Regions from separate parts of the Homo sapiens genome. Here region 2 is linked to region 1. The links are contacts of gene promoters, found by promoter capture Hi-C in human tissues and cell types (Jung and others, 2019). All regions are on one chromosome and are shown on one strand. Each heading gives the region's core, a stretch centred on a gene start or on the middle of the fragment in contact. The rest is flanking DNA. Distances are from core to core; before and after follow the strand shown.

The links. The method cuts DNA at HindIII sites, captures the fragments that hold promoters and counts their contacts. A contact is called where the count stands out against the background at its distance.
Region 2: a fragment that was not itself captured here is called in contact with the fragment with the promoter of PELI3 in region 1 in 2 of the 25 tissues and cell types used here (dorsolateral prefrontal cortex and lymphoblastoid cells).

Annotation. Positions count from the first base shown.
Region 1 is chr11:66,465,456-66,468,364 of GRCh38, forward strand. It overlaps PELI3 (pellino E3 ubiquitin protein ligase family member 3), which reads left to right and starts at 1,450. Exons shown (of 8, transcript NM_145065.3): 1 at 1,450-1,572; 2 at 2,673-2,825. The coding sequence starts at 2,674. RefSeq lists an enhancer at 1-416 and silencers at 1,368-1,577, 1,588-1,937. The HindIII fragment of the contact is 25,810 bases long and covers 1-2,909 here.
Region 2 is chr11:66,379,975-66,382,883 of GRCh38, forward strand. No RefSeq gene overlaps it. Among named protein-coding and RNA genes, the nearest start is that of SLC29A2, 9.7 kb to the left of the region's middle. RefSeq lists an enhancer at 2,579-2,909. The HindIII fragment of the contact is 5,232 bases long and covers 1-2,909 here.

The DNA of each region.
Region 1 (2,909 bases), core at 200-2,699:
GGTGGTGTCCTGCTTGGTGGAAGTCTCGCAGGGAGATTCTCTGTGACTAACGAGTGTCTTTTCCCCTAAAGGATGTGCCGTCGGCTGCTTTCTTGTTTCATCTAGCCGCTGGGCCCCAGAACAGTTGGCAAAGCAGTTGGTATCTTTGGCTATTTTTAGGTGGAGGAGTTAGCGGGGTGGATATAGTAGGGCCCCAGGGGAGTCTGGTAGATGGGGAACTTCAGGTGCAACAAGTTTGTGGGGGTGGGAGTGGCAGCGGCTCCCTCTCAGGAATGTTTAGGCAAACTAAACATGCATCCTTCATAATGGAAGTCAAAAGCCACCTCCTCTGTGCAGTCTTCCTTGATTTTCTCATTAAACACCCCCACCGCCCCCCACAAGACCAAAGACTTGATCTGGAACTATAATCCAGCCTTTATAGTTCCAGACCAAGAGTACTGAGCAATAGGGACCTTACCTGATGCAGACAAGGTTTCTCTTCTGCACCTCTGAGGCTCCATCCCTAGTCAGAACGACAAGGTACGAAGTTAGGAGTTGAGACTGAAGCCACTCATACAGCTGAGATTCTCTCTTGGCCCGTTTCTAGCAAACTACAACAAGCAAGTCACTTTTGTAAATCTATTTCCTCATCTGTAAAATGGGCAACTATCGTGCCTGCCTCCCAGGATTAAAGTAAAGGGTTTAATTTGCTCAAAGCACAGCGCACAGCGCCTAACGTAGACTGATAGATCTCTCGCAAGCCCCAGGCCCAGAAGGGGCGGTGCTCCCCCAAAACTCTCTTTCCTTTGCAGCACAGCGGGGGGTGTGTGCATCCTGGCGGAGGGGAGGGGACTGAGGGGAGGGGAATGGGGGGTGCCCGAGCTGGGCTGGAAGACAGGTCTGCGACTCTGGTCAACTGCAGCTGCTTTCCCCGGCCTCCACCGCTGCCGCACACCCCCTTTGCCTTTAGCATTTTCCTCCTCTCCTCTAATTGCGTGGCGTCCCCAGATGGTAGGCGGGGTGTCGGAGCTGGGGGTGCGTAGTCCCGGGCCTAAGGCTAGGGAAGGGGCCTCCAGCGCCGTGTGAGGGCCCTGACCGACAGTGGGGAGGGGCGCCCATGTCTCTGGGAGAACCCCGGAGTCCCCGGAAATGGAGGCGGAGTTTGGGGAGTCTGAAATGGGGGAGGGGTCGTGTAGACTACGGGGGAGTCCTGAGCCGGCTAGGAGGGGCAAGGGAGTCCCTCAGACGGAGTGGAGAGCGGGGCTTCCCTGGTCAGAGGGCGGTACCAGGGGAAGGGCGTGGTCTCCTGCGAAGGGGCGGAGCTCCGCCTACGAAGGCTGAGCATCGCCGCAAGAGGCGGAGTCTGGAGCGAGGCGGAGCTCTCCTAGGGGCGGGGAAAATGGGGCGGGGCCTCCGGACAGGGGGCGGAGCGTGGCTGTTCGCGCTCATCCCCCTCCCCCGGCCCTGGGTGTCCCCGTGACGAGGCAGCGCGGAGCCGCCGCGGGCCGGGCCCATCCCGCCGCAGCGGCCCGGGGCCGAGCAGGGGCTAGGCGGGGAGGGAGCGGCGCCCAGCGGGGCCCGGAGCGTGGCCAGGTGAGGCCGCCGGGGCGGAGGGGGCGGGGGCTGCGCCAGGCGGGCCCCGGCGGGCGCGGGGGGCGTGTTTGCGTGTCTGGGGGTGGTGGAGGGAGTGGGTCCGAGGGCGGGCGCCGGTGGCTGCTGCGCGCCCGCGCGTCCCTGCGGTCGCGGGTGCGGGTGGTCTCTGCGCCGTCCGGGCCCGGGGCGTGCGGGGCCGTGCACGCGCGCGTGTTGTGCGGAGGGGCCGCCGGGTGTGGACCTGCGTAGGTGCTGGGCCGCGGTTCCCGTTCTGCCCGCCCGGGGCGCAGGGCGCGGGCCTGCCCCGGCGCGGTCCCTCTGGCGCGGGGATGTTTTCCAAACGGGCTGCCTGCGGGAGACGGCTGTGCTGCAGCCCGAGCTCGAGGGGGGAGCGCCGCCTCCGCAGGCCTCCTGAGACCCGGGCGGCTGGGGACGCAGACAGACACCTGAGGGAGGGAAGAGCGCGCACCCAGGAGGAGTCTATTGGCCTACCCGCAGGGGGAGGCCGAGATGGGGAGACTGAGGCAGATGGTGAGGCGGAGGCGGGCAGACAGGCAGAGATGGGGAATGGGGGGAGAGAGACGGCAAAAAGGACAGCGGCTGGGAGGACAGAGAGTCATTGAGAAAGCAGATGGACAGACAGAGGCCTAGACCTCAAAGGGGCAAGAAAGATTCAGATGGACAGGTAGATTCAAAGAACCTGTCAGAGAGGCTAAATCAGAGGTCCAGAGGCTAAGAGCTATAAGCAGGAACTGAGTCTGAGATGAGGGGTAACGGCCCCCAACTCATTGGGTGCCCCGCTTTGAAGCACATCCCAGACTGGGATCTTGGCCAAAAAGCAGCCTCTGGCCACCCCAAGTTGGTCCATCTCTTTGGCACCACTGAATATCCTGACTCTCTTCACTGTGCCACCCCTCCCTGGTATCCCAGCAACCTCGGGCAGTTTAGAGGAGGCAGAGGGGAAGTGGTTGCCATAGCAGTAGAGGCGGTGAAAGGTCACCCTTGCCTTAGCCTAGGCGGCCCTGCAGCAGGCTGCAGCTGGAATTGAGCCGGGCTGGGGTGGGAACCTACAAAGCTCTTTTCTCTCCCACTCTGCCCAGAATGGTGCTGGAAGGAAACCCTGAAGTGGGGTCCCCCCGAACCTCAGACCTCCAGCACCGGGGGAACAAGGGCTCTTGCGTTCTCTCCTCTCCCGGTGAAGATGCGCAGCCAGGCGAGGAGCCCATCAAGTATGGTGAACTCATCGTCCTGGGGTGAGCATCCCTGGCCTAGAAGGGGTGAAGCACCAGACACCCACCCAACGCAGCCAGAACAAGGGCCCGACCCCTCCTCCCCCC
Region 2 (2,909 bases), core at 254-2,753, 85 kb before region 1:
ATAATTGCTTATTATTTCCAAAGCTTTTTTGATTCTTTCAGGTTTTCTACCTAGGAAATTATGTCATTAGCAAACAAAGACAGTTTTATTTCTTCTTTCCCCATCTGTATGCCTTTTATTTCCTTTTATTAACTTATTGTGTTGGCTAAAACTTCCAGTAGGATGTTGAAAAGCAGTGGTGAGAGGGGACATTCTTGCCTTGTCCCTGATCTTACCAGAAAAGCTTCAAGTTTGTCGCTATAAAGTATATAGTTAGCTGTAGTTTTTTTGTGGATGCTCTTCATCAAGTTGCTTTCTAACCCACAAAATGTCTATTTCCCATGATTCAACCTAATAACAACGTGGGAAAACATTCATTGATTTGTAGTATTTTGTGAACATTCTTGATGGCCAAGTATTGTCGATGAACAATGCAGTAACTTGCTGAGTGGGCGGGTCACGAGGTGAGGAGATCAAGACAATCCTGGCCAACATGGTGATACCCCGTCTCTACTAAAAATACAAAAGTTAGCCAGGCGTGGCAGCACATACGTGCCTGTAATCCCAGCTACTCAGGAAGCTGAGGCAGGAGAATTGCTTGAACCTGGGAGGGGGAGGTTGCAGTGAGCAGAGATTGCACCACTGCACTCCAGCCTGGCTACAGAGCTAGACTCTGTCTCAAAAAATAATAATAATAATAATAGAAATAAAAACCAAACAAGCAAAAACAAGACAAAATAAAAACCAACCCTCTTTGCCACTGCTGGAAGCGGTTGGCTGCATCACACCAACTCTTAACTCTGAACATTGGTAATTTAAGAGGAAACTATTCAGCATGTATGGGAAGTAATTAGGGTTGAAATATCATGATACTTGGTTTTTACTTTATATATTATATGTACTTTATATGTAATTATGTATTATTATGTTTTTTCATATAGATGGAAAAATGTTGCAAAATATCAACAATTGCCACCTAGGTTGTGGGTTTACGAGTGTTCATTGTGCTATTCTATCTTTCTGTGGATTCAAAGCTTTCTATGAAAAAAAGTTTAAAAAGTAAGAATTTCTCTTACTTTTCCTATTTAACCATTCGTCAGAAAGTGTTTTTTTTTTGTTTTTTGTTTTTGTTTTTTTTTTGAAACTTAGTCTCGCTCTGTCTCCCAGGCTGGAGTGCAACGGCGCGATCTGGGCTCACTGCAAGCTCCGCCTCCCGGGTTGACGCCATTCTCCTGCCTCAGCCTCCCGAGAAGCTGGGACTACAGGCGCCCGCCACCACCAGGCGCCCGGCTAATATTCTGTATTTTGTTTAGTAGAGACGGGGTTTCACCGTGTTAGCCAGGATGGTCTCAATTTCCTGACCTCGTGATCCACCTGCCTTGGCCTCCCAAAGTGCTGGAAAGAAAGATGTTTTTATATGTTCCCTAGCATTTTTTTTGAGATGGAGTTTTGCTCTTGTTGCCCAGGCTGGAGTGCAATGCTGTGATCTCAGCTCACCACAACCTCCACCTCCTGGGTTCAAGCGATTCTCCTGCCTCAGTCTCCCAGGTAGCTGGAGTTACAGGCATGCGCCACCACGCCCAGCTAATTTTGTATTTTTAGTAGAGACGGGGTTTCTCCATGTTGGTCAGGCTGGTCTCAAACTCCCGACCTCAGGTGATCTGCCCACCTCGGCCTCCCAAAGTACTGGGATTACAGGCGTGAGCCACCGTGCCTGGCCTTCTCCGGCATTTTAGTTGCACTATACCGGGAGCAGTTTCTCTGAATCATATTGCCTGACTCCTTAAACTTGTTTTTGTTTAATAACGTTGTTCATTGTATAGCTAAACCATAATGTTTTAAAGTAGTCCCCTATTGGCTGGGTGTAGTGGCTCACGCCTGTAATTCCAGTACTTTGGGAGGCCAAGATGGGAGGATCTCTTGAGACCAGGAGTTCGAGACCAGTCTGGTCAACATAGTGTGACCTCATCTCTTAAAAAAAAGAAAAAATGGCCGGGCGCGGTGGCTCATGCCTGTAATCCCAGCACTTTGGGAGGTCGAGGCGGGCGGATCACGAGGTCAGGAGATCGAGACCATCCTGGCTAACATGGTGAAATCCCGTCTCTACTAAAAATACAAAAAAAATTAGCAGGGCGTGGTGACTGGGGCCTGTAGTCCCAGCTACTTGGGCGGCTGAGGCAGGAGAATGGCGGGAACCCAGGAGGCGGAGCTTGCAGTGAGCCGAGATCACGCCACTGCACTCCAGCCTGGGTGACAGAGCGAGACTACGTCTTAAAAAAAGAAAAGAAAAAAAAAAGAAAAGAAAAGAAAAAAGAAAAAAGGCTGAGAGGCTGAGGCAGGAGAATCGCTTGAACCCGGGAGGTGGAGACTGCAGTGACTCGAGATTGCGCCACTGCACTCCAGCCTGGGCAACAAGAGCGAGACTCCATCTCAAAAAAAAAAAAAAAAAAGTAGTCCCCTATCGATGGACATTTACGTTAGATTGTTTCCAATCTAGAAAAAAGTACAAAAAGAAAAAAAAGCATAAAATAAACAAGAAACAAAAACAAACACAAAAATAAAATAGATGATTTCCATTCATCTGTTATTATAAATAATGGTGCAATGAATAACATTTGGGAGTTTATCTGTAGGTGAAATTCCTAGAAGTGGAAATGCTTTCGAGGATATATACAGCTAAATTTTTTTTACACCTGTAATTTTAATAGATGCTGCTAAATTGCTCTCCACAGAGATTGCACCAGTTCACAGTTCCACCAGCTATATATGTTGGTGCCTGTTATCCAGCCAGCAGGATGTTGTTAAATGTTTTGTTCTTTTTTTTTTTTTTTTTGAGACAGAGTTTTGCTCTTGTTGCCCAGGCTGGAGTGCAATGGCGCGATCTTGGCTCACTACAACCTCTGCCTCCCGGGTTCAAGCAACTCTGCCTC